4 separate regions of the Homo sapiens genome follow, and regions 1, 2 and 3 are each linked to region 4. Evidence: promoter capture Hi-C in 16 types of primary human blood cells and fetal thymus (Javierre and others, 2016). All regions are on one chromosome and are shown on one strand. Each heading gives the region's core, a stretch centred on a gene start or on the middle of the fragment in contact. The rest is flanking DNA. Distances are from core to core; before and after follow the strand shown. Region 1 holds the start of C11orf58 (chromosome 11 open reading frame 58). Region 2 holds the start of PRDM10 (PR/SET domain 10). Region 3 holds the start of LPXN (leupaxin). Region 4 holds the start of PCF11 (PCF11 cleavage and polyadenylation factor subunit).

Region 1 (2,714 bases), core at 164-2,663, about 66 Mb after region 4:
GAATAAACTTCTCTAGGTGCCCATTCATCCCCAAATCTTTACTGATTGCTAATCTTTCTGCAGAGCTGAAGTCGATTCCTTTAAAGATCCTTAATATTCCGGTCCTCGCCCCACCTCCCATCAGAGGGGTAGGTCTTAACATTATCTCATTTGCTACAAAGTAGTATTCAGTGGGCTTTTAAAATTTTATGAAGAGCGTTGAAATGCACTATCGAAAAATTTAAAGCTCTATGTATTCAGAAATTGACAGTACTTTAAACAAAACCGAAAAAAAACCTAGATATCCCTTCATCTTCCTTAAAGATGACCTCTCCGCGCTCTCTCCAACAATTTTCCCCATCAACGTTGCCAAGACACTTATCCATTGTATGAAGGACCTAGTTTTACGTTTACTGGTTACCTACCGTTTCCATGACACTGGGCTAGGAGCTAGGACAAATATACAAAAAGGCCTAAAATAAGCATCATATTTCTCTCCGAATTCCCAACACCCGGCAGTGCAGTAAATATTTAACGGGTTACTTTAAGGGATAAACCGTTTGCTATTAAAACCTATGAGGTGAGGGCTGAGGAAGGGAACGGCATTTGATGGGGAGACGAGGTAAGAAGAACGAGGTATTAATATCCGACATCAAAATGGGCTTCTAGGTCTCAACGTCTTAGACCTCACCACCAGAGCCAGTACCAAATTACACCCGTGGCACAATTTTCGGCTCAATACTGTTCTCGGTTTACCCTTACTAGTGCAGCTAAAGTTAACTCTCAACAGCACATTGTAAAAATCATCCAGGCAGGAAAAATCTGTACAAACGTGCACGAACATTTCGACATTGTCACGGGAACATTTAGAACCCAAAACAGGGAGAGTCTTGCCGTCTCTATACTGAGTACAAAGGCCCGAGAAAGCACTCTCATCGGCCCCCCAAAACGCACGTACGAAATCCCTTGACTAAGCTCTTTCACTCCTCGACCCTCTCAGAATTTCCTTCCTCAATCCCCCTTCCTACGCAGGTCTCCGGCTCTCAGCGTGTGGGCCTCTTCAAACCTTCTGACCCTCATAAAGATTAAGGGAGGCATTTCCCACTCATTCTTCTGGTTTCTTCCCTGGGCTCTCCCGCTGCAGGCCACCTCAGGCGCGTCCTCCTCCAACCACCCTTCCCGGCCTACTCCAGGCTTTAGTAGGCCTCAACCCTCAGCCACTCCGCCATTATTATTTACATCGTCGTCTGGGGAGGCTGAACGCTTCACCCCATGCGGGTGAGACTCTCTGGCAGCACTCATCCTTGCGGGGATCCCGACGAAAAATGCCGAACCCTCTCGCCGCTCTTCCCAGCCGCAAAACCAGCAGCTTACAATCCGCCAAGGGCCCAAGCAGCGCCACTACAGAACGCAGAGCCCCTCCGGGCCTTCTCTGCCACAGTCGTCACCGTTGCGGCCCCTCGCCGCCCCGGGGCACTTTGGGAGTTGTAGTTTTCTGATTCATTGCATACTGGCCCGAATAAAAAAGATGTGTCCGTGACTAAAACTACAATTCCCAGGAAGCCCCGAGGCTCAATTCGCGCTGTGTGGCGGGAGTGCCCTCAGAGGCCCCGCCTTCGGCTGGTGGAGGAAGCGTTCCCGCGGATGTGTATGGCGGTGAGCGTTGGCCGAGAGCTTTGTCGCCACAGGAGGAGGCTTAGAGGGGTTTTTGCCTTTCACCGTGCAACGCTGCCCTACTGGCAAATGTATCATCGTAGCTAGGCACCTATGTTTAAATGTAATGTTTGAGGCTGACTGAATCCTCACGAATACCCTCCACCCAGGACAAAAACCTTAACCAAAAATGGCTTCTACCATTTCCACCCTGGTGTTCTCTATTGCGCGCAGGGGATTTCTAGGTGGTCGGTGATGCTGCTTTCTAAATGTTTTCATGAATATTTCGCTGTTTTCCCATACAGAAATGAGTTCAGTATGTTGTTAAATGTTGGCTAATTGGCGGTTGTTGAAAACGGGGATTTAGCTGAGGGAAATCTGTTAAGTTTTCATATGGCTTTGTGTGAGGTGGGAGTGCTCCTCACTGACCTCGCTGTGGATGTCTGGGCACCGTTACAGTAGGGGCCTTCACCAAGCAAAGTCCATCCCTGCCACAAAAGCCTCTATTTTTTTTCTTTTTTAAAAAAAGTAATTATTGAGGTTAAATTCACATATAAAATTAACCATTTTTTAAAAAGTGTACAATCCACTGTCACTTAGTACATTCACAATCGTGTGCAGCTGTCACCTCTGATTCCAAGAAGTTTCACCACTCCAAAAGGAACCCCAATGCCCGTTAGCAATCCCTCCCCATTTCTCGCCCTCTCTCCAGATTCAAGTGATCACTCCTCTACTCAAAAAGCCCTGCATTTAAAGCTATTTATTGTTCAGATACTGAAGACTATCTCCTACTTTATTAAGGTGTCTGAATTTGTAACCAGGTCTGAACTTAACTTTCTGTCAGAATCCTTGTCCTTAATAATTCTGAAGCTTTCTCACCTTGAATACAAATGTGATTTTTTTTTTTTTTAAGCAAAAATTAGGCCTGGCGCCATGGCTCAGGCCTGTAATCCCCAGCATTTTGGGAGGCTGAGGCGGGTGGATCACGAGGTCAGGAGTTCGAGACCAGCCTGATCAACATGGTGAAACCACGTCTCTACTAAAAATACAAAAATTAGCCTGGCATGATGGCACATGCCTCT
Region 2 (2,700 bases), core at 125-2,624, about 47 Mb before region 4:
GAGGCTGAGGCAGGAGAATCGCTTGAACCCGGGAGGCAGAGGTTGCAATGAGCCCAGATCTCACCACTGCACTCCAGCCTGGGCAACAGAGCGAGACTCCGTATCAAAAAACAAAACAACAAAACAAAACAAAAAACAGTAAAGAGAATACTATTGAGTTAATTTTACAGTTTTTCACGCTGTGGGTGTTTTCTATTCTCGTCTTTTGCTTAGCTGTCCTGTCTCCCTCTTTTTCTCAGGCAATAGTTTAGGATTTTTGTAAGTTATATTGTCAGTACTTCTCATTTAAGTTCCAGACAGTGTGCTAAGCAAAGCACTTTACTCGGTAAAGTAAGAGCTCACTTAATCTTCAAAATAACGTAGCAAGGTAGATATCACGAACATAGCAAGGTAGATATCACCGAAGGGAAAACCGCTCCCCGAAGGTCCGAAGGTCCAAGGTCTCTCTGCCATCTAGCTGCCCTGCGTATTGCCTGCCAGTGGGTAGTTGGAGCTGGGTATCTCTCCAAAGCTGGGCTCTTGGCTGCCCTTTGTGAAGGCAATTTTAAGGGACAGCAGGATGTGGAAGCCTGCGGTTAAGGAGTGAGCTGAGTCACTGGGTAACCAGTGTTGAATAATGTTTCTCAATGTCTGAAATGACACTCACTTCCTTTCCAGATTGGTAGAGGAGAAAAAAGAGGCGCAGTGAAAGCGCTCTCAAGGTGCGGTGGGTCAGGGTGATAGGCGGCGCCCGGCCGCTCCCTGGGGGTCCTGAGGGCGAGACCCCGGCAGGCTCCCGACTCCGGGAGCCGGGCGGGAGTTCGGTTTTCGCCGGCGCTCCACGGCCAGGCCACTTCGGAGGCAATCTGTGGCGGGGCGGGCGGACGCGAGGGCCGCCTCACCCCCGCGCGTCTTCCGGGACACCGGGCCCTCGGGCGCGCGGGAGGCGGGCTTAGCACGGGCGCAGGCTGCCCTCGGCGCCCGAGACACCCAGGCACAGCTGGAAGCTTCCTCCCCGTTAGCACGCGGGCCGCAGCGGGGGCTTGACCCCAATGCGAAGAGTCGGGTTTTCTGATTGGCTGAGAGTAGAAACGCAGGCGAGCGCCGCCTGAGACCCGCTCTGCGATTGGGTTTTACACGAACAGCAGAGCACGAAATAAAGAGGCCTTCAGTCATTGGGCCATTATGTGAATCTCCTTTTGGCTTCTCTGCAGACTGAATAAGCGTCTCAGGATCTTCGTCATGACTCCTAAATCTGGGCCTGTCAGTTCGCCCCAGCGTTTCTCGTCTCTAGGCACGGCATGGGGCTTACAGAGTTTAACCAATCATATAACGTCGAGATCAGGTTGCCAGGCAGATTATGCTAATAAGACCCCGCCTTTTATGCTGCTCCCACTCTGCGGCGGGAAGAACCACCTGGAGGTGGCGGGGGGGGTTGATTTCTATCACCCCTAGGGAGAGAGGATCGGGGACCCGCTGATCTTCCAGCTCCCCTCACCCAACGTCGTGTAAGTACCTAAAGGATTAAGGGAACCAGATAAGCCAGGGTCCAGACTACCCCATAGACTGGGAGGGTGTTTCGTCTTTGCTTAGTCCCACCCAAAATGGCGCCCAGCTCTTTCCGCGTCTCAGAGCCCGGCCGGGGCCAACCGACCGCGGACCCGGGTGGGGGGGGAATTGATGGTGGTGGTGGGGGGGAGAAATCCCGGCGGCACCGCCCGATGGTACAGTCCAGCCGGGGCTGGGACGAGGCACCTCACTCGGGGTGGGGGGTCAAACCATCTGCACCTTCCAAGGGGAAGAGGGCAAGGCCCCCTCCAGCAGGCCCTCCTGGCGCCGCGTTCAGCGCCGGCCTCGGCGTCTCGTCGCCCCTGCCTTCGCCGCGCGCAGCCTCCCCCTGCGACCCCCGAGTGGCTCGCACGCTCCGCCGGCCGCGCGCACCTCTCCTCCCCTGCCCGCGTTGGTTGGGCCGGGACGGCGGTTGGGCGGCCTGCGCGCTCCGGCGGCGGCGGTTGCGCGGGCGCTCCGGGCGCGGCGGGCAGGTCTCCGCCGGCCGGGAGCCGAGCACCGGGGGCTGGGGGCCGGGCGCCGGGCTGGGGGTGGCAGTGCGGGCAGGGCTCCGGGGCTGGCCGGTTGCGGGCGCGTGGGGCGGAGGGTCCTGTTCGATGGGGCGCCCAGCTTTGTCTGCGGAGGCCGCGCCGCCCACTTGCCATCGATGGCTGGGCCCCCGGCCTGCCTTCCCAAGCTAGCGTCCGGGACCGGGGCGGGGGGCCGGCCCGCAGGGGTGTGGGGTGGCCCCTGCGGGTCTGTCCCGTGGCACCGCGTCGGGGCTGGCCGGGCGGAGGCGGAGGCCGAGGCCGGGGTCGCGGCCCTGCCCCAGTCCGCCTGCACCCAGGGTGCAGCGCAGAGGCAGGGCGAGGCCGGTCGGCGCTCGGGAGAGGGCTGATGGTGTGCACCTCTCCAGCCCCTCGCCAGCTTTTGTTAAGCAGGTTTAACCCTGCAGCTAGGTGTTGATACTCTACTAAGTAAAATGGAATATTCCCCGTCTGCCCTCCAGCCACGCGAACGCAGCGCTGTTGAATTTGTGTGCGCGCCTTTAGCCTTGCTTGGTGGATGAGTTGGATTTTAGTGCATTTTCAATCAATGTGCGTGTACACTTAAGCACAAGGAGAGGTGGCTTTGTGCTGTCATCGAGGATTAGATGTGTGATGAGACCCACCC
Region 3 (2,700 bases), core at 128-2,627, about 25 Mb after region 4:
GGGATCCAATTTTAAATTTCACATTAATCATTCAGTTAAACTGTAGACAAGTGCTGAAGTACATTTTTCCTTCCAGTACTTTGACTCAGATACCACTTCATATTAGACAAATGTTTTATATTCTCTACTGAGTATTTTCCATTTTCATAGGGCTAATGTCATTTTCAGTTGTAATAATCGATTGGCATAGTGTCAATGGAAATTTTTTAAGATTGAGTTTGTAGTGAGCAGACTTTTGGAAGGAACAGTGCTGACATCCAATGGATGCTCAAAGTAATACAGAGGAGGAATCTCCTTTCAAAAAAAAATGTACAGACAGTGGAATGGAGAATGAATTATTCCCTAAAAAAAAAAAGCCACTGTGGGCTGGATGTGGTAGCTCACCCCCGGAATCCCAGCGCTTTTGGATGCCAAAGTGGGAGGATCCCTTGAGCCCAGAACTTCCAGACCAGCCTGGGCAACATAGGGAGACCACCCTCTACATAAAAAATAAAAATAAAGCTTTTAAGCTAACCTGGTGGCGTGATGGGATGCACCTCTGGTCCCAGCTACTCCAGAAGCTGAGAAGGGCAAATCGCTTGAGTTCAGGAGTTCGAGTTGGAGGTTACACTGAACTATGATAGTACCTTTGCACGCCAGCCTGGGTGACAGAGAGCTTGTCTTAAAAAAAGTAAAGAAGGCTACGGTGTTGTAGAGGAAAGATCCCAGACTTTGCAATTATAGTAAGTAGCAAAGCTACCAATTAATTATCTTAGCAAGTTGCTATTACATGAACCTATTTCACCATTGGTAAAAAGGGGGAAAAAATCTATTTCACAGGGCCATAATTATAGTTCCTTACGTATTGCTTTTTTATAGTAGGCCTTTTGTAAATGTTTAATTCAAGGTGAATAAATCACAGTGGTAAAAAAGGTGAAGAGTTAACCTCAGTGTTACTTTCCAAAGAAATTGCTATAAGGCAGTGTATCTAGGCAGGGATTATGCTTAATTGAGATGCACACAGTTTAACATCTGGTGTCAAACCTGGCTTCCTTCTTTGTGACCACCCTATAGATGTTTGCTTTTGGGACCACTGAGTAAACCAGGCCCTGAGAATCCAAGCATGAATCCACTTCTGCCCTACTTTTAAGGATTTACGTTCCATGCAGGAAAGCAGATAACCATAATTTCTGAATAAATAAGACAACAAAATGAAATGGATGCTGGTCAACTCTGATGCAAATTTTAAGAAGGAGACTATGCCTCTGTGTCTCCCAGCTTCACAGAAAAAAAAAAAAGAAAAAAGAAAGATGCTCAGAGTGGGGTACCTACACTTGGAAAAAACGCAAGTATAAGTCTGCCATTCCCATGAATCCAAGATGAATCCTGGCACAGAGTAGGTCCTCAAATTTTGCAAAATTAATTTTGAATCTTTATCACCCTGGCCAATGCACTGCCATAATGCAAATCTTACTATCTACCTTTCTATGTCAGTCACATTTTTAAAACTGTGTAACCTATGAAAAAAAAAAAAAAGCTCACCAAATCAAAAGAGAGGAAGTGCTAAGCAAATACAGGAACCAAAAAGGTTTATAGAGGCTGCCTTATGCTGTCTCATCCAGTTCCTTTGCGGTCCTCTTCTTCAGCACATGCCAAAGCTGTTCCTCACGGCCTGTGAGACAAGAGCATCTTGGATGTAGGACAATGGAAGAGTTAGGTGAGTGAGGAGCCTGAGGAGAAACTCTGAGGGAGTGAAGACTTGGCTGCCATCTCCTTGTGTGGTGGGGTATACTTCTGGCTAGACTGAGGGTAGTAATGGAAGATTTTATTTTCACTTCTTTCCTGTCCTCAGCCCTGCCAAGAGTGAAGCATGAGGAACTATGATTGTTTTGGGGAACTATGGGTTCACTGTTTGCAGTGGCAAAATAGATGGAGAGTTTGGTGCTAACCGCGGAATAAACTCTTGGCAAATACTTTTGGACTGGATTGTTACTGCAGTTGTTGTCTTGTTATGGGCGTTTTGCCCTTTGGAGGTCACTGGAGATCAAGGGTGGCCACATAGCGAGACAATGCAGAGATATGATTTGAGGAGGAAAAGAAAGAGCAAAAAGGGAATTGGGGTGTTATGAGGAAGAAAAGACGGACTAGAAGTATAAGAATGAGGGATCTGTAGAGGTTGGAAAAAGGCCAGAGTGGTTTCATTTGTTCCATGTTTTAGTATTAAATCAAGAAGGCATAGCACTCTAACTCTAGTGATTTTGTTGCTAAGCTTTTTATTCAGAAGAATTCTGAAGGAAGAGATTACTAGGGCCTGAAAATATGACACCTCCTTCCACTCTAAGACAATTAAAACCAGCAGTGGAACTATTAACCATATTAACCAGAGAAATCCTGGATTTCAAACCTTTGGAGTAATGTAAGGTTTGTCATTCTTGGGACTCATTCCATAGCCTTTGCCAACATCTGTTGCCAGCATCTTAACTAACACTGAGTCACTAAACTATACCCAATTTCCAAACTGTATTAATTCCACAGTGTCCTGGTTTGGGGTGTGTTTGGGGATAGGGTATGTCAAAAGTGCAAAAAACAACAACAAAAAATATCTTGCACATTGTTACATTGTCTTAAAAAAAATGGCGTGTGATTTCAAAGCTGGAGAAACAGAGGAAAAGTAAAGGGCAAATTACCAGGAGGCAAGAGATGTTAATGAAGAGAAAAAGG
Region 4 (2,721 bases), core at 86-2,585:
CAGGGAAGGGAGAAAAAGAGAAAAGGAAGAGGAGGAGGGACTGAACTTTTCAGAGAAACTGCAAGTACTTGTTACCCTCTGGGCCAGTTCTCCACCTACAGGTTGGATAAGATCTCCTCCCCCCACCCAAACCCCACCCTCAACCCCACTTGCCCCTATTTTGGGACAAATTAGACCCTCCAATAGGAGAATAAAAGTTTTATCTAGCCGCCCCCACCCCAAAATGGGGCTGACGGGAGTGAGCAGCTGCCTGGCTGGCAGGGAATGGATTCTCCTCTCTTCCCTTTCGCATCATGTGCTTTTCAGGCGCCATGTTGGGCTCCTAACAGGCGGCTGCTCCACTCGGGGCCAAATCCCTATTCCCACCCACCAACAGCTCGCTCCCAGGTCCCCCTTCACCTCCTTCCAACCCACAGAACACAATTACCAAAAAGGGTGCTTGGGGAAAATGGGAGACCCACTCTCCCACTTCCCAGGGAATTAAAATGGCTTATGTTAACTCTTACTTCCCCAAACCACAAACTGCCTTTAAGTCTCCCCCACCCCAAAGGGCTCTATTCAAAGCGTGTGTGTGTCGGGATATACAATGCGGTGGCCTAAAAAGGGAGTTGGAAAGCGGAAGTGGGACTCCACCCTTTATCCTCCCCACTCCCTCCCCCCCAGAGGCCCATGCTCGAAGCCTGGGCCAAAGACCGAGCCTGAGTTGGAGGGGGGTGGGGGGGTTGGAGAGAAGGAACACTGTCCCCCTTGGGATGGAAGCGAGACCTGGGATGAGGCTGACACTAAAATCAGGGAGTATTAGAAGTAATAGGAGGCTGCGGGGTGTATAAAAACCTTGGCGGTTTGGGCCTCGATGAGAGAGACGATCTCCTTGGCGAAGGGCAGGTTCTCCTCGGCTAGAATGGTCAGCATATTGATGTGCGGCTTGCTATTGAAGGTCAGGTCTTCGAGCGATGACTGATAATCCCGACAGGCGTCCTCCCGGGCCCCCGCAGCACCGGCCTCGGCCGGCGTCTGCTCTGACATTGCGCCGCGGCCCCCCTCCGAGGTCCGCTGCAGCTGAAGCTGAAGCCGCTCTGGATACCCCGCCTCCCTTCCGACTCCTCTTCCTCTCCCCGGCTCTCTCGCGGCTCCGGCTTCACCACATGCTGACCGCGGAGGGGGGATGGGGGACGACACAGGGGGAACCTCGGGTATGAAACGCCGCCGTCTCGCGGGTGATCTCCGTCCACTTCCAGCCGCCACAGAAGCTTCTTTCTCCACAGACACAAAATGGCGGCGGCAGTGGCGGCTCCAGCTCCGAAAATGTCTGTGTTCCCAACCGCTGCGTCGTGCGAAATGAACTAGGGGAGGGGAAATGTGCGGTAAAAGGGCGGGGCCACTGATAAAACCAGGCGTGATTGGCTGTCCCGGCAACGTCACGAGCCCCGCCCCCGGCCCTTCCGCAGGACGCCCTGGCACCGCCTTCTTCTCCGGCCTCTACCCGGACTTTCGCAACATCTACTGCTCGGAGGCGCACTGGAAAAGACGGCCCTTCTCATTGGCCGATTCATAAGGGACTGTTCGGTCATTTGTTACCATAACAACCCATTCAGGGAAGCCAATAGGCCTGGGAAGGCAGTTCCCGCGGCCCAACCCAACCACTTTGAGAAGAAGACTCAGCCGTCCCCTCTTCGTCCCTCCCTCTAGCTTCCCAGCCACTGAGCGGGCCTGTCAATCATCTTTCCTCCCGCCTGCCCCGTAGCTGCTACCGACGGTGGGGGTTGGAGGGAGCGGGGGTTGGAGGGAGCGGAGGCTTTCTGCCGCCGCACCCCCTCTCCCTTAGCGTCTCAGGTGCTCTGGAGAGCCAGGGCGGGTCCAGCTGCCCCTCTGGGAACTGGGAAGTGGGAGGGAGGTGCCCAATTTACCCGGAACTTCGGAAAGCACTGCTGGAGAGTTTCTTCCAGCACGCCGCTTCCCACACCCACAAAAATACCTAGGCGAGCTTGCCTGACTTGAATCCCCAGGAAAATGCCTTTTATTTAGAGATTAAGTGTGAAAGGCTTTTTCCTTGGGGGTTTGGAGGAGCTCTTTAAGGAGCCCACTATGAGCTCTAGGAAGAGTTTTTCACAACAGCCACACCCAGCTGGACCGTAATATCTCCACTGTGAATCTGCATTTCAGAACCTCCTTAGCATACACTATTTGGGGCACGTAGGAAAACACACACGCGCATGCACTTTTGTTTTAAACTTGTGGGGCTGTCTTCCCAGGTTGGAAATGATGCTCGTAAAACACACAAAGCTTTCAAATAGTTCACCGTGGAGCTGCGACATAACACAAACCAAACGTAATTTTTTCATTGAGTAGCGATATTGACCTAAATATAAGCTTTTAAAATGTGTCAATTACGGGCTGGGCGCGGTGGCTCACGCCTGTAATCCCAGCACTTTGGGAGGCCGAGGCGGGCGGATCACGAGATCAAGAGATCGAGACCACCCTGGCCAACATGGTGAAACCCCGTCTCTACTAAAAATACAAAAATTAGCTGGGCGTGGTGGCGTGCGCCTATAGTAGTCCCAGCTACTCGGGAGGCAGAGGCAGGAGAACCGCTTGAACCCGGGAGGTGGAGGTTGCAGTGAGCCGAGATCACGCCACTGTACTCCAGGCTGGTGACAGCGAGAGTCTGTCTCAAAAAAAAAAAAGTGTCAATTACCTAAAATTGCTTTTCCATTGCCTTCC

The links. The method cuts DNA at HindIII sites, captures the fragments that hold promoters and counts their contacts. A CHiCAGO score of 5 or more calls a contact.
Region 1: a contact is called between the fragment with the promoter of C11orf58 here and the fragment with the promoter of PCF11 in region 4, in 1 of 17 cell types (naive CD8 T cells). The highest score is 5.2, in naive CD8 T cells.
Region 2: a contact is called between the fragment with the promoter of PRDM10 here and the fragment with the promoter of PCF11 in region 4, in 2 of 17 cell types (fetal thymus and total CD8 T cells). The highest score is 30.4, in fetal thymus.
Region 3: a fragment that was not itself captured here is called in contact with the fragment with the promoter of PCF11 in region 4 in 3 of 17 cell types (total CD8 T cells, fetal thymus and activated CD4 T cells); the score reaches 10.7 in total CD8 T cells.

Annotation. Positions count from the first base shown.
Region 1 is chr11:16,737,346-16,740,059 of GRCh38, reverse strand. C11orf58 (chromosome 11 open reading frame 58) reads right to left here and starts at 1,413. Exons shown (of 5, transcript NM_014267.6): 1 at 1,219-1,413. The coding sequence starts at 1,281. It also overlaps a transcript of SOX6 not described here. RefSeq lists an enhancer at 910-1,539. The HindIII fragment of the contact is 4,072 bases long and covers 1-2,504 here.
Region 2 is chr11:130,001,509-130,004,208 of GRCh38, reverse strand. It overlaps PRDM10 (PR/SET domain 10), which reads left to right and starts at 1,374. Exons shown (of 21, transcript NM_199437.2): 1 at 1,374-1,487. It overlaps PRDM10-DT (PRDM10 divergent transcript), which reads right to left and starts at 1,585. Exons shown (of 1, transcript NR_024233.1): 1 at 1-1,585. RefSeq lists silencers at 651-1,040, 1,751-2,070, 2,081-2,130, 2,161-2,340 and an enhancer at 1,151-1,240. The HindIII fragment of the contact is 10,759 bases long and covers 989-2,700 here.
Region 3 is chr11:58,574,756-58,577,455 of GRCh38, reverse strand. LPXN (leupaxin) reads left to right here and starts at 1,600. Exons shown (of 9, transcript NM_004811.3): 1 at 1,600-1,696. The coding sequence starts at 1,684. RefSeq lists enhancers at 1,608-1,657, 1,668-1,727. The HindIII fragment of the contact is 1,747 bases long and covers 504-2,250 here.
Region 4 is chr11:83,155,745-83,158,465 of GRCh38, reverse strand. It overlaps PCF11 (PCF11 cleavage and polyadenylation factor subunit), which reads right to left and starts at 1,335. Exons shown (of 16, transcript NM_001346413.3): 1 at 835-1,335. The coding sequence starts at 1,026. RefSeq lists silencers at 170-229, 1,680-1,759 and enhancers at 1,030-1,279, 576-1,365, 1,430-1,479. The HindIII fragment of the contact is 1,033 bases long and covers 1,253-2,285 here.